Regions from separate parts of the Homo sapiens genome. Here all the other regions are linked to region 4. Evidence: promoter capture Hi-C in 16 types of primary human blood cells and fetal thymus (Javierre and others, 2016). All regions are on one chromosome and are shown on one strand. Each heading gives the region's core, a stretch centred on a gene start or on the middle of the fragment in contact. The rest is flanking DNA. Distances are from core to core; before and after follow the strand shown. Region 1 overlaps LINC01471 (long intergenic non-protein coding RNA 1471). Region 2 has its middle 69 kb from the start of LINC02034. Region 3 overlaps TPRA1 (transmembrane protein adipocyte associated 1). Region 4 holds the start of TXNRD3 (thioredoxin reductase 3). Region 5 has its middle 60 kb from the start of LINC02016. Region 6 has its middle 14 kb from the start of MIR6825. Region 7 overlaps LINC01471 (long intergenic non-protein coding RNA 1471).

The links. The method cuts DNA at HindIII sites, captures the fragments that hold promoters and counts their contacts. A CHiCAGO score of 5 or more calls a contact.
Region 1: a contact is called between a fragment that was not itself captured here and the fragment with the promoter of TXNRD3 in region 4, in 1 of 17 cell types (erythroblasts). The highest score is 6.4, in erythroblasts.
Region 2: a contact is called between a fragment that was not itself captured here and the fragment with the promoter of TXNRD3 in region 4, in 3 of 17 cell types (total CD8 T cells, M0 macrophages and endothelial precursors). The highest score is 6.9, in total CD8 T cells.
Region 3: a fragment that was not itself captured here is called in contact with the fragment with the promoter of TXNRD3 in region 4 in 1 of 17 cell types (naive CD4 T cells); the score reaches 5.7 in naive CD4 T cells.
Region 5: a fragment that was not itself captured here is called in contact with the fragment with the promoter of TXNRD3 in region 4 in 4 of 17 cell types (endothelial precursors, naive CD4 T cells, megakaryocytes and 1 more); the score reaches 13.2 in endothelial precursors.
Region 6: a contact is called between a fragment that was not itself captured here and the fragment with the promoter of TXNRD3 in region 4, in 5 of 17 cell types (naive CD8 T cells, naive CD4 T cells, non-activated CD4 T cells and 2 more). The highest score is 8.2, in naive CD8 T cells.
Region 7: a fragment that was not itself captured here is called in contact with the fragment with the promoter of TXNRD3 in region 4 in 6 of 17 cell types (naive B cells, endothelial precursors, M0 macrophages and 3 more); the score reaches 6.3 in naive B cells.

Annotation. Positions count from the first base shown.
Region 1 is chr3:127,504,997-127,507,696 of GRCh38, forward strand. The region is part of intron 5 of LINC01471 (long intergenic non-protein coding RNA 1471); the gene reads right to left. Among named protein-coding and RNA genes, the nearest start is that of LINC02034, 31 kb to the right of the region's middle. The HindIII fragment of the contact is 295 bases long and covers 1,132-1,426 here.
Region 2 is chr3:127,466,740-127,469,545 of GRCh38, forward strand. No RefSeq gene overlaps it. Among named protein-coding and RNA genes, the nearest start is that of LINC02034, 69 kb to the right of the region's middle. The HindIII fragment of the contact is 209 bases long and covers 1,295-1,503 here.
Region 3 is chr3:127,582,826-127,585,525 of GRCh38, forward strand. The region is part of intron 1 of TPRA1 (transmembrane protein adipocyte associated 1); the gene reads right to left. Among named protein-coding and RNA genes, the nearest start is that of MIR7976, 3.0 kb to the right of the region's middle. The HindIII fragment of the contact is 8,588 bases long and covers 1-2,700 here.
Region 4 is chr3:126,653,798-126,656,687 of GRCh38, forward strand. It overlaps TXNRD3 (thioredoxin reductase 3), which reads right to left and starts at 1,327. Exons shown (of 16, transcript NM_052883.3): 1 at 951-1,327. The coding sequence starts at 1,193. The HindIII fragment of the contact is 4,771 bases long and covers 293-2,890 here.
Region 5 is chr3:127,449,548-127,452,247 of GRCh38, forward strand. No RefSeq gene overlaps it. Among named protein-coding and RNA genes, the nearest start is that of LINC02016, 60 kb to the left of the region's middle. The HindIII fragment of the contact is 1,755 bases long and covers 550-2,304 here.
Region 6 is chr3:127,559,612-127,562,612 of GRCh38, forward strand. No RefSeq gene overlaps it. Among named protein-coding and RNA genes, the nearest start is that of MIR6825, 14 kb to the right of the region's middle. The HindIII fragment of the contact is 7,886 bases long and covers 1-3,001 here.
Region 7 is chr3:127,528,871-127,531,784 of GRCh38, forward strand. All of the region lies in intron 5 of LINC01471 (long intergenic non-protein coding RNA 1471), which reads right to left. Among named protein-coding and RNA genes, the nearest start is that of LINC02034, 7.0 kb to the right of the region's middle. The HindIII fragment of the contact is 5,147 bases long and covers 1-2,914 here.

The DNA of each region.
Region 1 (2,700 bases), core at 29-2,528, 850 kb after region 4:
CTAGAGACAGAGAGACATTTCATGCTGATAAAAGAGTCAATCAATCAGGAAGATATAACAATTATAAACACGTATGCATTTTATAACAGAGCATCAATATACATGAAGTGAAATTGACAGAAACTAAGGGAGAAATATACAATTCAGCAATAACAGTTGAAGACTTTAAAACCTCACTTTCAATAATGGATAGAAAGACTAGACAGAAGATTAATAATGAAATATTAGACTTGAACAGCACTATAAACCAATGAGACCTAACAGACATCTCTATAGAACACTCCACTCAACAACAACAGAATATACATTCTTCTCAGGAGCACATGAAACATTCCCCAGGATAGACCGTATATTAGGCCATAAAACAAACCTTAACAAATTTAAAAGAATAGAACTAGCACAAAGTATGTTCTCTGACCACAATTGGGATAAAATTTGACATCAACAATGGAAAATTTGGGGAAACTCAGAAATATGTGGAAATTAAACACACCCTTATATAACCAATAGGTCAAAAAAGAAATAAAAGGGCAAATTTAAAAATACATTGACAAGAATGAAAATGAAAACACACCATACCAAAACTTATAGGATAAAGCTAAAGCAGTGCTTAGACAGAAATTTATAGCTGCAGTGCCTATATTAAGAAGAAGGAATGATCTCAAATCAATAACCTAATCTTCCACCTTAAGACACTGGAGAAAGAAGAGCAAACTAAACCTAAAGCAATCAAAGAAGGGGAATAATAAAGGCTAGAGCAGAAATTAATGAAACAAAGAATAGAAAAACAATAAAGAAAAGCAGTTAATTCAAGGCCAGTTTGTTGTAAAGATCAACAAAATTGACAAACCTTTAGTTAGATTGTTCAATAAGAAAAGAAAGAAGACTCAAATTACTAGAATCAGAAATTAAAGAGAAGACATTACTACTACCCTTACAGAAATAAAAAGATTATAAGGAAATATTATGAACAATTGTATCCAAAAAACTCAATAAATTAGAAGAAATGTCCTTCCATAGAAGGACAAAAACAAAACTACAGGAACTGACTCAAAAGTAAATAGACAATCTGAATAGACTTTTAACAAGTAAAGAGATCGAATTAGTAATCAAAAACTACCCATAAAGAAAAGCTTAAGTCCAAATGGCTTAATCACTGAATTTTATCAAATACTTAAAGAAGAATTAATACAAATTCTTCACAAACTCTTCCAAATAGTAAAAGAGGAGGAAATACTTTCCAATTCATTTTATGAGGCCAATATTATCTTACTATCCAAACCAGGTGAAGATAGCACAAGAAATGAAAATTACAGACCAATACCTCTTATGCAAAAATCCTCAACAAAATACTAGCAAATCAAATTTAATAACATATAAAACAAATCAAACTCCATGACCAAGTTCGATTTATCCTAAGAATGCAAGCTTGGTTTCAACAACTAAAAATCAATTAAATCACCATACCAATAGAATAACAGCTAAATGAGCTAAAATTATACTCAATGGTAAAAAACTGGATACTTTCCTCCTAAGACCAGAAACAAAACAAGGATGTATGCTCTCACCATTTCTATTCAACATTGTACTGGAGGTTCCGGTTGGGGTAATTAGGCAAGAAAAAAGAACAGGAGGCATTCAGATCACAAAGAAAGAAGTAAAACTCTATCTATTGAAGATGACATGATCTTGTACATAGAAAACCCTAAGGGCCCAGGCATGGTGGCTCACACCTGTAATCCCAGGACTTTGGGAGGCCGAGGCAGGCAGATCACTTGAGGTCAGGATTTTGAGACCATCGTGGCCAACATGACAAAACCGTGTCTTTACTAAAAATACCAAAATTAGCCAGCATTGTGGCACACACCTGTACTCCTAGCTACTGGGGCGGCTGAGGCACAAGAATCACTTGAACCTGGGAGGTAGAGGTTGCAGTGAGTCAAGATTGTGCCACTGCACTCCAGCCTGGGTGACAGAGTGAGACGCTGTCTCAAAAAAAAAAAAAAAAAGAAAATAGAAAATCCTAAGGAATCTATTAAAAAACTATTAGAACTAATAAATGAGTTGAGCGAGGTTGCAGAATACAAAATTAATATACAAAAATCAATTGTATTTTTGCTGGGCGCAGTGGCTTACGTCTGTAATCCCAGCACTTCGGGAGGTGGAGACAGGCAGATCACTTGAGGTCAGGAGTTCAAGACCTGCCTAGCCAAGATGGTGAAACCCAGTCTCTACTAAAAATACACAAATTAGCCAGGTGTGGTGGCACAGGCCTGCAGTCCCAGCTACTTGGGAGGCTGAAGCAGGAGAATTGCTTGAACCCGAGAGGCAGAGGTTGCAGTAAGCCAAGACTGCCCCACTGCACTCCAACTTGGGTGACAGAGTGAGGGTCTGTCAAAAAAAAAAAATCAATTGTATTTTTAAATAAACCTTTAATTTTAGAATAGTTTTAAATTTTAAAAAGAGTTGCAAAGATAGTACAAAGAGTTCTTTATATCCTACACCCAGAGCCCTCTAACCTCTAATATTAACATCTTCTATTACTATAGTACATTTATTTTAATTGCTGAACCAAAATATACAAGTAACAAATCAATAAACATTTGATTGCAAGTAAGAGAAGACTAAATCAAAATAGTAATAGTAGTAATTTCAATAGTGGTAGTAGTGATAACTGAATGGTCAAGGAATAATATACAC
Region 2 (2,806 bases), core at 149-2,648, 810 kb after region 4:
AACTTCACCAGCAGGAATATGGGACCCCTGCTCAGCAGGACTCAGGGTGGTGTCCTTATACCCATGATGCTCCAAGTCAACTGATGACAGGACCCAACCAGGGGCACAGCCAGTAACCAGATGACAAGGGCTGAGGAAGCAGGATGGGGTCCAGGGCCCACACAGGCCTGGCCTCCCAGATACATTCTTCCAGTAATACTGTTAGAAGTGATATACATCTGGCATTTCTAGTCCTTTACATAATGGCCTCACTAGTCATCCAACACCCCCACAAGGTAGAGCCTAGTATCAGCCCCACATTCCAGATAAGGAAACTGAGGCACAGAGAGGCTCCTGCCTCATCCAGGCAATGGAGGGGATTCATCCCAGCGAGCCCGGCGCCAGCCTGGCTCCCATCCACTGCTTTAGAGCCCCTTGTCTTCAGGCACAGAGGTGAGAGTGCTGGTGGGAGTTCCTAGAGATGGAGGGCCAGTGGAGCCAGCCACTCCTGGGAAGAACCTCCCACTGCCTCGACCCAGGCCCACTGCAGGTGCCACCTCCTCCCTGATCCCCCAACCAGGCATGTTCTCCTCCCATCCCCAGGCACTTTCTTCTGCCCTCGTCTTTCCCTGACCTGCACTCTCACCTAAGCCAACTCTCCCTGCCTGATCTGGGTCCCTGAATTTGGGCACGGGGCATGGGGGTCCCTGGCCAGGGAGGGCAGAGGAGGGAATCATAAGTGCCATCCACCTCCCCTTCCTCCTGCAGCTTGCCTGGCCCAGACTCCCTTAACTAGCTCTGGCTTCAAACCTAGGCTCTCCCAGCCCCACCCCCGCTCGCCTGCTGCAGGCAGGCCTGGCCGCCCTGATGCAATGGGGGCGGTGGCAGCTGGGGGCGGACTGCTTCCTTCCAGGGCTGCGGCTTCCACATCAAACCCATGCTCATTAAGAAGCACGGCGAGTGCCAGGGTGACATCTTTATTCACGCGCCCAGAGACTTCAAAGCCTTCAGGAGATCTCCTCGGTGGATTAGACATGAAAAATGTTGGAGATGAGATGGAGCAAAGAAGCAGACAGCCGCTCTGGATGTTAATTAGGCAGGGGGTGGGGGCCGCCTCCAGTCCAGGGTGGGTTCCTCTGGGGCAGAAGGGCCCAGACCACCAGAGGCTCTCTGTGGCTACAATCCCAGGTCACCTGGAGGCTAGAACCTCCCAAGCTGCAGGCCAGGTCCCTGGATGTGGGCGAGCTGGACCCAACAGGAGAACTTGCTCTGCAGTGAACATGACTGGGTGACCCCAGCATCCCCATTAGGGAGAAGCTTCAGCTTCACTGCTGCCCACAAATGTAGACCAAGTCCTGCATGGACTGCTCTGTGCGGGCTGCTGCCAAGAAGGCGGAGAGGAAGGGGACATCCCAGGATCTCAGTCTTGGGAGGCAGGTGGGAGTAGTTGCGAGTCTCTGTGGTCAGTTCCGAGAAGGAGGCAGGTCCAGGAGGCTGTGGGAGCCAGAAGAGGTAGTCCAGGAAAGCTTAGATGGGGAAGAGGGGCAGACCACCAGAAATGAGAAGGGAATTCCTAGCAGAAGAAATGACACAAGCAAAGGCTGGAGGGGTCGACATGGAAGGCAAAGCCATTCTCTGTCAGGAGTGTCACAAGCAGGGCTGGGTGCAGGTTGAGATGGAGCAGGACGAGGAAGCAGGGGTGGTCTTGAATAGGTGGCAACATGGTTACAGTTAGGGTTTGGGGAATGTTTTGGTGGCACAGGTGGGAGCTGAATGTGGGGGCCAGAGGTCTGGAGAGTGATTGATTGTCACAGTCAGGAGCATGGCTGTGGTCCAGGTAGAGGGTGACGACTTGAAACAAGAGGTAGCCACAGGAATATGGAGGAGGCAGGAGAGAGAATGGCAAACACCAGGTGAGTGATGGAGAGGGACCAGGGACAAGTCACAGATCAGATTCAGATTCTTGGCCCCTGTGACCAGGTAGAACCTGGGGCTCTCCCCAAGGTGAGAACACAGAGGAGAAGCAGGTGTAGGGGAGGGTGCTGGGCTCAGTATGGAGCCTGCTGGGTTTGAGGTGCCTCCAGGACACCTGGTGAGAGGGTCAAAGGTGGGAGAAGCTTTTGAGCCAGAGCTCAGGGGAGGCATGGGAAAAAGGGAGCAGCCCACCACCCACTCAACCAAGATGAATTGATGCCATGTTGGGCAGGGGCAGGCTCTTGCCAGACATTATGTCTCCAAAAGGATTGTCTCAGCCTGGGAGGGGCTGAGAAAGGGAAAGGAGAGGACCCAGGCCTGGGGGCATCGGGGGCCTGACCCCACCCAGGAGCAGAGTGAGGGGCCTGGGGAAGGACTACCCTTGGGCTGAGGTGACACAGGGGCTCTATGTCCTGGCAGAGCAGGGGCACCCTCTGCTTTAACAGCAGAGATGTAGACAGGCCTCTCTGCCCCCACCATGATCCTGACCCAGGGCCATGGGAGGACAGGCACTCAGGCCAGAAGATGAGACTCTGGCTGCCCCCACAGATGTTTCCCAAAACATTTCAGAGGAAAACCTGCTGTCTCAGAGGGCAACTGAGAAACAAATTTCTTTGGGCTTTCTTATGCCTGCTAGATGAGGGGAAGAAAAGGTTTCATAAATGAGCTTTCCCTCCCCCACCAGGGTGGGAAGGGGAAAATGGAGCTATTGATTGGCCCATTTAGAGTGTCGACTTTGATTTGGTGTGTGTCACCTGGGCGACTAATTGGAGACGCGCAGCTTCTGATCAGGGGGCGGCTTGGGGCCTCCTGGCAGGTGATGTGGAATTGGTGCCGCCATCATCCTGTCTGC
Region 3 (2,700 bases), core at 23-2,522, 930 kb after region 4:
CCCCGCCTCTACTAAAAAAAAAAAATACAAAATTAGGGCCAGGCACGGTGGCTCACGCCTGTAATCCCAGCACTTTGGGAGGCCAAGGCGGGTGGATCACCTGAGGTCAGGAGTTCGAGACCACCCTGACCAACATGGAAAAACCCTGTCTCTACTAAAAATACAAAAAAATTAGCCGGGCATGGTGGCACATGCCTGTAATCCCAGCTACCTGGGAGGCTGAGGCAGGAGAATCCCTTGAACCCGGGAGGCATAGGTTACGTTTAGCTGAGATCACACCATTGCTCTCCAGCTTGGGCAACACAGCAAGACTCCGTCTCAAAAAAAAAAAAAAAAAATTAGCCAGGCATGGTGGTGCATGCCTGTAATCCCAGCTACTCAGGAGGCTGAGGCAGGAGAATCACTTGAACCCAGGAGGCAGAGGTTGCGGTGAGCTGAGATCACACCATTGCTCTCCAGCCTGGGCAACAAGAGTGAAACTCCATCTCAGAAAAAAAAAAAAAGAAACAAACAAACACAAAACTTAGCCAGGTATAGTGGTGCATACCTGTAGTCCCAGCTAATAGGAAGGCTGAGGTGGGAGTATGGCTTGAGCCCAGGAGTTCGAGGCTGCAGTGAGCTATGATCGTGCCACTGCACTCCAGCCTGGGTGACAGAGTGGGACCTTGCCTCAAAAAAGAATAAATTAATTAATTAAAAATAATAAAATGAGGCCATAGCTGCAATCTTCAAGTGATGGGGAATATTAAAGAGAACAAATGCCTGACACATAGTAGATCCTAAGAAAGAAGATGGCTCCTTCCCTACTGTTGGGAGGGGGGCAAAGAAGCCCACCCTTCATTCACACATGCTTTTTTTTTTTTTGAGACATTGTCTTGCTCTGTCTCCAGGCTAGAGTGCAGTGGCGTGATCTCGGCTCATTTCAACCTCTGCCTCCCAGGTTCAAGCGATTCCCCTGCCTCAGCCTCCCGAGTAGCTGGGGCTACAGGCACGTGCCACCATACCCGGCTAATTTTTTGTATTTTAGTAGAGACGGGGTTTCATCACGTTGGCCAGGATGGTCTCGATCTCCTGACCTCGTGATCCGCCCACCTCGGCCTCCCAAAGTGCTGGGATTACAGGTGTGAGCCACCATGCCCAGCCCACACGTGCTTTTATTTGCTCAGCAGACCTTAACTAGCACCTACTGGGTGCCAGGCACAAGTCTAGGTGGTTGGACGTGGCACGGAACAGAGCAGACAAGGCCCTGCCCTCACAGCAAGGTGAAGCCAACAACAAGCATGAAAACCCTATTTAAAAAGCAAACTTGGAAAAAAAAAAAAAAGCAAACTTGACAGGGCACAGTGGCTTACACCTGTAATCCCAACACTTTGGGAGGCCGAGGTGGGAGGATCACTTGAGCCCAGGAGTTTGAGACCAGCCTGAGCAACACAGCAAGACGCTATTTCTACAAAAAGTTTAAAAAACTAGCCAGGTATGGTGGTGCATACCTGTAGTCTTAGCTACTCGGTGGGGCCGAGGTGGAAGGATCACTTGAGCCCAGGAGCTCCAGGCAGCAGGCAGCAGCAAGCTATGATCACACCACTGCACTCCAGGCTGGGCCACAGAGTGAGACCCTGTCTAAAAAAAAAAAAAAAAAAAAAAAAAAAAAAAAAGAAGCAAACTTCTAGAGATAAATGCTAAGTGAAGAAAACAGAGAGGTGGAGCAGAATGACAAGAAACACAGTAGAGACTGCTGGGTTCCCCCAACATCTACCCTTCCCTTTAGTGATGGAACCAATGGAGTTTAGCTTACACATCGCTTCCCAGCACAATGGGGACCTTTCCCAGCTTCCCTGCAACTGGGTGTGGCCATGTGGCTGAGTTTTATCCAACTGGACACGAGCTGAGACAGGCTGACAGTCCTTCAGCCTGTCATTTGATCTAATCCCATGGTGTGAAGACATAAACTCTAAAACAGAGGCCCAACAAAGATAAAAACCCTGACTTGTCTTTAAAAAGAACTTTTTTTTTGTTATAAACATATGACACGAGCAGAGTGAGGTCTGCTAATTTCAGATCATGCCCTCCTCCCTTCCCGGTGGCTGGAATATAGATACGACAGTGGGAGCAAGAGCAGCCTCCTCAGACCACGAGGCAGAAACCCTGTACGAGGGTAACAGAGCAATGAGAAAGAAGGTGTCTGGGTCCCCAGCACAATGAGGCCTCCGTGCATGTACTGGACAGCTTGCACAGAGGCTGCCTGCATAGATAAAAATAATCTATTTTATTATCCTAGCCTTTGTTTCAACAGCTAGCCCAAATCCCAATGAATATAAAGGTACTGCTTGGACTGGGTAGTCAAACAAGGTGACATTTTGAGCCGAGATCTCAATAAATAAGCAGGAGCCAGCCTTGGAAAGATCGAGATAAAGAACATTCCAGGGAGAATCACCTAAGATCCAGATGCACAAGTCCAGAGGTAGAAACAGGTTTGGCCTGTCCCAAGGGCAAAAAACAGGCCAGGGTAGCTGATACCAGAAAGGTTGGCAGGGCCAGGTCCCACATGCAACTCGACTTCACTCTAAGTGCAACCAGAAGGGTGTTACAAGGAGTGAGAGGTCTGGTTTCCATGGGGACAGGATGCCAGTGAAAAGGGACTGAAGTGGAGGAGGAACAGAGACAGGGAGGCCATGAGGAGCTCCTGCAACAGTCCATGCA
Region 4 (2,890 bases), core at 77-2,576:
AGCAGAATGATAAACTCCGGTACGATTCATCCCAGGGAATAGTCAGCAACGAAAATTAATGAACCCCAGCTACAGATACTAACATGCATGAATCTCTGAAACATAACTGTTGAGGAAGAAAACTGCAGAAGAATACCTATGTATGTATGGTTCTATTTATATCAAGTCCCAAAACAGGCCAAAAGGAACCAAATATTGATGAATAATATATATATTTGGTAAAAATGTAAAAAAAAAAAAAGGAAATTTTGCATAGTGGTTAACCCTGAGGGAGGGAGGAGACAGCCAAGGAAGCTTCTACAGTACTAGTGTCACTTTATTATTCTTAAAAATATATATGCATAATATATGTTTTAAGAAACTATACACATCAATGTAAACTTCAAATATATTTGAAAAACACAGCCTATAATTTCATGAACTCAACCCAATAGTTTATGCTTTTGCATACTGTCTTCCACGTATCATTTTTCAACTTTCTGTAAAATGAAGTAAATTCCTAAACGTTGAAAGTCTGTACCTTACACGTAGGTTATCACCCAAAGGCTCGTTTCTAAGTGAAGTATTCTTAAACACAGAATACATTTGTCCTTAGAAATAATGCCGGATTCCTAGTCCGCCCCGAAAAGTTAAGGCAGTGTGCATGAAGCTGAAATTACCTCAGTCGTCCTAACAACCTTCCCGTACCTTCGTTTCACAAACGGGGGAACTGAGGCTCTGCACAGGGTCCTAACCCGGGTCGAGGTCACGCAATTAGGAGAGTTTCTGTTTTGATAAACTATCACAAGCCCACCTCAGGGGACGACCGGGGAGAGGAGAGGACGGACGGCTGACCTCACCGCCGCAGCCCGGGACCCGCGGGCGCCCCGGCCCGGACCCGCCCTGCCCCGGGTGGCGTCCGCGTGGCGGGCCCGGTCGCGCGCGGTGGAACCGGCGAGGGCCGCGCCTACCCGAGTACTATGGGGACAGTAGCTCTTGCTGAAGATCACCACCCGGCTGCGCTCGATGAGGCCCACGAGGTGGCGGCGCAGCTCCTCGCGGGCCTCGGACGAGCGGCTGGGCCCGGGGGACGACAGGCGGGCACGGCGCCCCGGCGGCGACAACACGCGCGCCCCTCGGACATGGCCCGAGCGGCGGTTGGGGGCATCGCCCGCCTTTCCCGGCCCGGGCGACTGCGGCGGCGACCGCTCCAGAGTCTCGCTCTCGCTCCTGGCCCGGCCGGGCCTGCTCACAAACCGAAACGCAGGCGGCTGCGGCGCCGGGACGGGGCCTGAGGGGCGGCGAACGCTGCCCTCGCTGGCCACTCTCACCACCCGCGCGAATCCGCGAGGCAGCCGCTCGCCCCGCCCCCCAACACCGCCCCGCGCATGCGAAATTGGGTCCCCCGCCCGCCCGCAGCCTAGGTGTCACCTGCCCTTCGCAAAGGGGCGGGTACCAAGCGCGAGCCTCTTTATCTCCAGGTTGTGCCTGCGTCCGGAGACCACCCAATCTTGGCGATGGCGCTCTGAGATGGCCTCTGTGCAATGCCTTTTACTCCTAATAATCCCCAACAGCCCCTTTAAACCACCTTAAAATATACGTTCTTCAATTTTTATGGGAAGTGTGAATTGGAAAGATTGATATTTTTAAAAGTTTAGATCACACAAGCTAAATAAATATATTGCGTTTGCTATTGCAATGCAGCTTTAATGAGTTTCCTAGGTTGCTACCCGTCAGTTCCCTTCTACATAGAATTCCAGAGCCGCCCCTAACAAAGGGACTCTGAAACCGCGAGAAGAGGAATCCTCTGTCCATTTCGGTGGATGAGTGGAAGACCTCGGAGCTGAACTTGCCTGCAGTGACTGAGTTAGCCGGTCATGGTGGCGGGTGCCTGTAGTCCCAGCTACTTGGGAGGCTGAGGCAGGAGAATGGCGTGAACCTGGGAGGCGGAGCTTGCAGTGAGCCGAGATGGCGCCACTGCACTCCAGCCTGGGCAACAGAGCGAGACTCCGTCTCAAAAAAAAAAAACAAAACCAAAAACAAAAACCTGGAGTTTCCTTCTTCTCAACAATTCTTTACATTTCAGTTAAGTCCTCTAGGCGGAACCCATGCAATAACCAGAGCAGGGGAAGGAGCCTAGTAGGTACTTTATGCTTTTTGTTAACCTGTGCACTCAGCGATGCTGGAGTGCCTGTCATGTGCCAGATACTGTGCTGGGCGCTGCGGATTTGGCAGAGAATGAGGCTGGCCGCCCTGCTCCTATGAGGTGTGGCTGCGTCTCTCCATCTCCTGGGTCCCATGAGGCACAACCAGTCATGGGGCCATTGTTCAGGTGAGGACACATGTCCAGGATGAGGGGGGAGTGTGTGGAAGCTACGGGCCTTGAAGTCAGGTGCATCCTCCTTTTCCCTGAGACTAATCTGTGGACATGACCCATGTCCCCAGCCGTCGCCCTCAGGGAGGTCGCAGGGCTGGCCGGGTCCCTGCGTGAAGTTTCATCTAGCACCCAATCACAGTGCCTGTGATTTTCACATTAGCTTGGGTCCTCCTCTTTGAGCCGTGAGGGGGAGTAATCAGGGGCACAGACCATGACACTCTTGCATGGCACAGCCTGGCCCATCACACAACATTGATGGGTCATTGACATGGGCAGCCTGAAGGAAACAGACATTGATGGGTCCAGTGACATTCAGAAATATCCACAGGGTCCCTTCTCCCCTGCAGTTGCCACCTGTCAGGGCACAAGTCTGAAATGCGATCAGGGCCCCAGGAAGTGGGGGCTGAGATGATGTGGGCAGAGTCTTGGGGCCTGGCAAGCTCCAGGCCATGTGACAGTTGCAGCCCCCACATGCACAGAGCTGCCTCTGGCTGCACTCACAGCATCTTAATGAGCACGCTGCATTTGTCATCT
Region 5 (2,700 bases), core at 177-2,676, 800 kb after region 4:
AAGGGGACTCAAGCCCTCTCTAGTTCTGTTTAAAACCCTTGCCACATTCTCAGGGAGCTGAGTTTTTGATACCTGGCTCTTCTCAAAAGACTGTGCCCCCAAGAGCAGGAGAAACTGGTCCAGCACGGTGGTTGCCATGGAAACCATTGAATGTAAATTTCATGTTCTGCCTTGCCCAGCTAAGCTATCGATTCAGCAAGAGGGAGAGAAATTGGGAGCTGTTTCCTTCCCAAAGTAAAAGAGAAAGTGCAGACCCAAAGTGAAAACAGAAGGAAGTGTGGCCAGGGGATCGAAACCTAGTTGGAAAAAAGATGGAACAGGGGTAGGCTGAGGGAGCAGGGAGGGAGGGAAGGACTAGAGAATCACTTTCCACTCCCATTAACCTGCTGGCACAGGTAAGTAGCCAGCTCCTAACACAGGCTCTAGAGTGATCTCGGCCCTGGCCTCAGCACTGGCACCTACCAGCTGCGTGATCTGGGGCAAATGGCTGACCCTCTATGAGCCTGTTTCATTATGTATAGAAACATGGATAAAAATTGCAACCTGGCAAGCTTGTCCTGGGGACATCATCACCCACGCATCCCAAGGCCTCTCTGGCATGCTGTCTTCTTCCTTTTTAGCCTGAAATTCCCACCATTGTTGTCATACTGAAGTTGTCATCGACGACTTCAGTACTCAAGGGAAAGAATGTGGTCCCAAGGAGCTGCAGTGGAAAACTCGAGGTCACCCATGAAAGAGGATAAGAGGAAGATGGAGCAGATGGGACATGGGACAGGTCTGTTTTGATGGAGTCAGCTGGAGTGGAAGTGGACCATACAAGGGTTGGGATGGAGGAATGGACTCGCCAACCAAAACCAAGTCCAAGTCTGGGTCCATCTCTGGGGTGCCCCAGCAGCTGGGTGCTCCACGCGGTGGGTGCAAATGCTGTGTGCTACCAGTTGTCACAGGATGACCATGCAGGGCTGCTGAGCTGGAGTGAGCCAGGCTGCCCATTCCCTCTTCCTGGGACTGCTGACACTGGCTCCCCTGGGGTGACCCAGGCCTGCCCAGGCACCATGACATGCCGAGGGTGCCCTGTCACCGCAGTCCTGGCAGCTGCACCCACAGAAACACTAATTGGGAAGTGAGACAAGCGAAGTGCCTTTAATGAGCTACCTTGTTGTAACTCTAACTCGTTGGCGTTATTTACAGAGATTCTGCTAATGAGGTGCCTGTCAGAGGGGGAGCCCACTGTGGGAGTTGGGGGAGGATGGGCCAGTCAGCCTTGAGGGAAGAGGCAAGATTCAAAGGGAAGAGGGAAAGAAACTCACCCTTGCTGAGCACCTGCTGGGCCAGAGGCCCTTCATCCCCATGATCTCAGCACACCGGCCCAGAGGCCCAGGAGGTACGGATGAGGTGTAGGGTGCAAGAACCTAACCAAGGTCACATGGGGAGTCTGGTAGTCTAGCCCAGGCTAGTCAGACAGCACAGTCCCTCAGGCACCTGCCTCAGGCAGGCCACAGGAGCCACCAGGGCCACCAAAGGTGGTAGGGACAGCATGTGTGTGTGTGTGTGTGTGTGTGTGAGTGTGTGTGTGTGTGTGTGTGTGTGAGTGTGTGTGTGTGTGTAGGAAAGACCACCAACTGGGAAGGAGTCCACTTCACCTGGCCTGGACATATGGAATCTACTCAAGGGTGGCCCCATCAGCTCTTCCACGCCAGAGTTCACAACCTCTCTTTCTGGGTTGACTCCTGGCAGGCCAGGGTTCTCCCAGCCATTCCTCACCCACTCCTCCCTCACTGTCCAGGGACCCTGAGCTTTGAGCCCTGACCCTAGCCAAAAAAAAAAAAAAAAAAAAAAAAAAAAAAAAAAGGAGGCTTCTCTGGGTCATCTACACTTTTAGAGACCATCTATCTTAGATCCAGTGGAATGGATTTGGCTGCTGCTTAACTGGTCTAGCCTGGGTTGGGTGCACCTCTCAGCCTGGGGTGGTGGGCAGGGCTCAGTGGTGGGAGGCGGGGGGGCTCAGTCTGAGTTAAGGGTGGGGCAGGGGTGGGGCTCAGCCCGGGACAGGGCTCAACTTGGGATTAGAGGGGAGAATCAGTTTGTAGCATTATTGGTTTGTGGCCAAAATAAGGGAACTGACCATTGGTCTTACTTTTTTCACCCGCGAAATGGGATTAATTAACTTGCATTTCTAGAATGTTATGGGATCCTAAGAAACAGAGATTGTGAAAGTGCCTTGCAAACCATATGGCGCCCCTTCTGGGTCTTGCTGTGGTCACTATGAGCAGAGTGGCAGTCTGGGTGCTGATGCTGAAACCAAGCTTGCCACCCTAGTGGAGACACTTCCCTGGCTTATCCCGTCCAGCTCGGCTCTGAGCTCCCCTCTCCCCTTCTCCATTCTCATTGTCACATCCTCTCTCCTCTCCTACTACCTGTCAAGATTGGCATCTCTTTAATTATAATGTCTGTGTGTTTCTTTAGGAGCCATGTAATTCCCCCTGACGGCCACCTATTTAAAATGAAAGTCAAACACTCAGAACTTTGTTTAAGAGTTGAGTCTTGGGGAAAAAAAATGCATTAATTGCCAAATGTTGCTAATTTCACTCTGATTTGGTGCAAAAAGAATACACACACACACACACACACACACACACACACGAGTACTGATGAAACTGACATGAGTCCAAGGATAGCATCTGGATGTCAAAGCCCTAA
Region 6 (3,001 bases), core at 17-2,516, 910 kb after region 4:
CAGGCCAGGCACGTTCAGGATGGAATGCTCTGACCAGCCAGCCCTGGTCAGAGCATTGGCCCTTCTAGCCATCAGTGTGGCCTATCTCAAGCTGCCCCGGGTTGGCATTCCTGGTCCTGGATCAGAATCTGTCTTCCCTGGGAGCCATCTCAGTGGCCTCAGCCCTGAGCCCCAGCCACACACCCCCAGCTATCGGGACTGTGCTGCTTGATTTCACTGTCAAACATCAGATATAGCCTCCCATCCTTCAGCATTCCCCACCCTACAGCACCCACCAATTCATTCATCCATCCATTCCTTTAACAAAATTGCTACTGAGCACTCAATAAGACCAGTCACTATCCTAGGCACTGGGGAGAGAGCAGTAAACAAAGCATACCAAAATCCCTGCCTTCATGGAACTTACACAATAAGGGAGATCAACAAGAAACTGTGTTAACAAACAAGTTAGCACAGTTAATTTGTGAACAGGAGTCTCAGGGGTAAAACAACAGCAGGACTCTATAGTTATCATTCCTGTGCACTTACTGTTTCCTCTGAACTTACAGTACCCTAGCACTTACTGTTCCACCATCACTTACTGTTCCCTGCACTTCCTGTGTCCCCAGACATCCTGTGCTTACACACCTCTGTTCCCCTGTACTTCCTGTTCCCTTGTACTTACTATTTCCTCTGCACTTCCTGTTGCCCCTACACTTCCTGTTACCTCTGCATTTACTGTTCTCCCGCACTTGCTATTCACCTTTTGATTACTGTCCCCTCACTTACTGCTCCCCTTGCACTTACTCTTCCCGTGCACTTACTGTGCCTCCTTGCACTTGCTATTTGCCCCTCATTTACCGTTCCCCTGCTGATACTGTTTCCTGCACTTACTATTAATCCTGCACTTCCTGTTCCCCTACACTTCCTGTCCCCCTGCACTTCCTAATCCCCCTACAATTACTGTTACCCCCAACTTACTCTTCCCCCATACTTACTGTTCACCTGCCCTTTCTGTGCCCCTACACTGCTGTTTCCCTGCTCTTCCTATTTCCCTGCATTTACTATTCCCCTGCTCTCCTTGTTCCCCTTGCCCTTCCTGTTCCCACTGTACTTCCTGTTTCTCTTACACTTATTATTCCCCTGCACTTACTGTTCCCCTGCACTTACTGTTCCATGGTGATATATGTTCCCTCTGTACTTACTATACTCTCGGCTGCCCACTTCTTTCCCCAGATACCCACAATGAAGCCCCCTCACTTTCTTCATATCTTAACTCCGAAGTCACTTTTTCCTAAGTCTTTCCTGCACAGTTTATTCACACTTTCTGCTTCTTCTCCCCACCCCAACAATTCCCCTTCCCCTTCTCTGCTTGTTTTTCTTTCTAGCACTCACTGCTGTATAAACCTCTGCAGATTCTATGTGTGTCTGCTGGATTATCTACCTCCCACAATAGAATATCAGCCCCTTCAGGGTGGGGATTTTTGTCTGGTTTCTTCACTGCTGTTTCCTCTGTGTGGATAGATGAACAACAAAAGGGGCTGCTTTCTAGTGTGGTTGTTCAGCTGTGTTGCTCTGGGAAGGTGATGCTGAGCAGAGAAGGAGGTAAAGAAAGAGAATCTGGCCGGGCGCTGTGGCTCGTGCCTGTAGTCCCAGCACTTTGGGAGGCCGAGGCAGGCGGGTCACAAGGTCAGGAGAGCGAGACCATCCTGGCTAACACGGTGAAACCCCGTCTCTACTAAAAATACAAAAAAATTAGCCGGGCGAGGTGGCGGGTGCCTGTAGTCCCAGCTAGCTACTCGGGAGGCTGAGGCAGGAGAATGGCGTGAACCTGGGAGGCAGAGCTTGCAGCGAGCCAAGATTGTGCCACTGCACTCCAGCCTAGGCGACAGAGTGAGACTCTGTCAAAAAAAAAAAGAAGAAGGAGAATCTGCAGAAGGAGTGAGAATTCAGGTTCTGTGATGTCACCTCACCGTTCCCAATGCAATGCTGATTTTCCCCTTAGGTGTGCCTGCTCTGTGGAGCCACCACTGTCTATTACAGTTTTAGGAACCCAGCTGCTCCCCAGGCTGGCTGCAGCAGGCTCTGGAGTGGCAGATCAGACCTAACATAGCCATCACACTCCGCGCTGTCTCACAGCCAGGTGGAGCAGCCCCATATTCCCCACCCCCTGCTGCCTGTTCCATGGACTCACTGCCAGCTTGGGCCTTTCCATAGAACAAGTCAGCCAGTGACCACTTTGGACCCTCTTTCTTCACATAATATGCTCTATCGCCAAGTCTTCCCCATCCTGCAAGTCTTCCCCATCTTGGACAGATTGCTGACTTATTCTGGAAGAGAACTTCATCTGGGTCCCTGCCCTCTCAGCTGGCAGTGAGCAGAATCATTCCTAGCAGCCGAGGCCTGTGAATGTGATTCTAGCATGAGGACACACATAGATGTTGGAGAAATAAGCCAAGTTCTCGTCTCTTTGGAGAACCCACAGTTGTCAAGAGCCTTCTGAGCAACAGCTATTTTATAGATCGGCTAATACCCGACAGGAAGAGATATTATCGTCCCTATGTTACAGAAGAGGAAACTGAGACCCAGAGGGTAAAATTACTCACCCAAGGTCACTCTTAGAAGTAGGGTCTAACTTGCAACCCAAGCATCCGACTTATTTCCCTCACACGGCTGCCTCCCTCTGCATAGTGCTGACCTTCCCAGCCGGTCTGTTCAGATCTGGCAGTGTCCCTCTGGCCTGAAAATCACAGTTTCCCAAAATGGGATGGAATCAGAGAGGTTGGATCAATGACGCACTGTTAGCAACCCCCATGGGCCAAATGGGGCCAGTTGGAATGGCTCTGAGATAGGCCCAGAATGTGAGGAGTGCATCCCAGCAAGATGGTTCCCAGAGCTCGAGTTGCCCCCTGAGGATCCATGCAGCAGGGGCAGTCGACAGAACAAGGGCCTGTTTCCACCGGCTGAATTTGAAATCACTTTGTCTCAGCATCCCAAGAAGTAAACCCGGCAAGGAGGAACA
Region 7 (2,914 bases), core at 4-2,503, 880 kb after region 4:
GTGGATCCAAGGACTGGCTTTCGTCTGGCCTGGACCCAGGCCTCTCCAAACCTCAGCCCAGCCCCATCCCAGCTGCCCTGCCTCCAGACCCTGCCCACCCTCTGAGATCCAAGGAACCTCTCATTATAGCTTGGCTTTCTGCTCTATGCACCCCAGGGTATCACCCAAGGTCATGTTTAGACTTTTCACAAGAATTGGACAATTAGAGCAGACAAACAGTATGAATAACAGCAGTGCACAGCTCAGAATCTTGAAGGAGGCTGGCGTAGAGGATGGTGTATGTGTGCAATTTCAAAGGGCTTTACCCACTGGAACTGCTGCAACCAGAAAGATGGAAGAAGTCAAGGTACTTTTTCTTATTTCCCCCCACCAAATACAGCTAAAAGTCATGGGTATTCTGTGTAGAATGAATACAAGGAGGCCCTAACATGTGCAGAGAAGCACAAGCTGGGAGCCTCAGGACCTGGCAACAGCATGGTGGTGAGTTCCATCTTTTTGCTTCGTGTTTGCCAAACTGGGTGCTAAAGAGTCAGCAACCTAGAAATACCAACAGGCTCAGAAAACAATCCCCCAAAAAAACCTGCTCCCTCTAGCCAGGCAAGGGGCATTCTGGAAAACTTTAGAAGATAACTGACCTACGCCATCAGACCACACAGGAAAAGACGAGGCCCCACACCACCCTGGCCAGCAGAGACTGAGGAGGGAGCCTAGACCTCCACCCTCACCCAGATGTACTGACTGAGATGCCACCCCTCCTTGGGAAGGTATTGGAGAAGCCCAGCTGGGGGCAAGGAAGTCCACCACAGCCGGGCCTCAAAGGAGGCTGCTGAGACAGAGGTTTAAATAAGGCCAGGAGCCCCACCACATAACCCCTAATATCCAGGCTTCAATCACAAATCACTCCACACCAGGATCCAGGAAAACACCGACCCTGATGAGAAGAGATGCAGAGACTAACCCAGGATGACACCAACAGCAGCATCATCTGAACAATTTGAAGCCACCATCACAAAAATGCTCAACGGCAAACACAACAGAATCAAGTGAGAAAATAGAAAATCTCTGCAGAGAAACAAGCCACAAAGAGGAACAAAATGGGAACTCAGGGTTGAAAACGCAACAGCCAAAATTAACTCAGTGGATGGCTCAACGCCAGAACAGAGAGGCTGGAGGGAAGAGTCAGTGAACCTAAAGATAAAATAATAGAAATTACTTAATTTGAACAACAAAGCAAAAAATAGACTTAGATAAAAATGAGCAGAATCTCGGGTATGTATATTTTGGCCTATATACATTTTGGTCTATATTTTGGTCTCTCTATTACAAAAGGCCTAGCATCCATGTCGTGAGAGACCCAGAAAGGAAGAAAGATGAGGGTGGAGCTGAAAAGATTTTCAAGGAAATAATGTTTAGAAATTTCCTAAATTTGGCAAAAGACATAAATTTACAGATTCAAGAACCTGAGCAAACCCCAAATGGCATCAATCAAAGCAAACCTATGCCAAGACACCTTCTATTGAGACTTCGGAAAACTGAAGACAAAGACAAAAATCTTGAAAGTGGCAAGAAAAAAACATCTTGGCCAGGCGCCATGGCTAACGCCTGTAATCCCAGCACTTCGGGAGGCCGAGGAGGGCAGATCACTTAAGGTCAGGCGTTCAAGACCAGCCTGGCCAACATGGCAAAACCCCGTCTCTATTAAAAATACAAAAATTAGCCAGGTGTGATGGCGCATGCCTATAATCCCAGCTACTAGGGAGGCTGAGGCAAGAGAATCATTTGAATCTGACAGGCAGAGGTTGCAGTGAGCCAAGATCGCACCACTGCACTCCAGCCTGGGAGACAGAGAGAGACTCTACCTCAAAAAAAAAAAAAAAAAACAGAAACAGGCTGGGTGCGGTGGCTCACGCCTGTAATCCCAACACTTTGGGAGGATGAGGCGGGCAGATCACGAGGTCAGGAGATCGAGACCATCCTGGCTAACACGGTGAAACCCCATCTCTACTAAAAATACAAAAAATTAGCCGGGCATGGTGCCACGCGCCTGTAGTCCCAGCTACTCGGGAGGCTGAAGCAGGAGAATCGCTTGAACCCAGGAAGCAGAAGTTGCAGTGAGCCGAGATTGTGCCACTGCACTCCAGCCTGGGCGACAGAGAGAGAGAAAAAAGAAACAGCATCTTACCTGTAAGGGAAAACCATTTTAATGACAGCAGATTTCTCACTGAAACCATGGAGACCAAAAGGAAGTGGCACAGCAATTTTCAAGAGCTGAAAGAAAAGAACTCTCAGCCCAGAATCTTACATCCAGTGAAAATATCCTTCAGAAATCAAGAGGAAATCAAGACATCTTCAGAAGAAAAAAAAAACAGAGACTTTGTCACCAGCAGACCTACCCAAAAGGAGTGATTAAAGGAAGTTTGCCAAACAAATAAAATGAGAAAAGAAGGAATCTCAAAGTGTAAGGAAGGAAGAACACAGTCAACAAAATATAGATAGAGACAATAGACCTCATCTCTTGAGTTTTCTAAATTATGCTTGACAATTGAAGCAAAAGTTATAACACTGAATGATGTGATTGCCAACGTATGTAGAGGAAATACTAAAAAGAATTGTTATACAGGGGGAGAGAACAGGGAAAGTGAAGGACTTAGGTTTCTCCTCTTCCCCCCCCCCCCCCCCCCACTGATAAAATGTCAACATCAGCTAACTGTGATAAGTTATATATGTATAATCTAATACCTGGAATGACCACTGAAAAATCTGCACAAAGAGATGCTGTCAAACGCACTATATACAAACCAAAATAGAATTTGGCAGACCTGGGTTCAGGGCTGAGATAGAGCCCAGTGGGGTGTCAGAGTGGGGCATAAGCCTAGGGCTGGCCTGTCCACCCAGTTTCAGCCAAGGGTGGCAT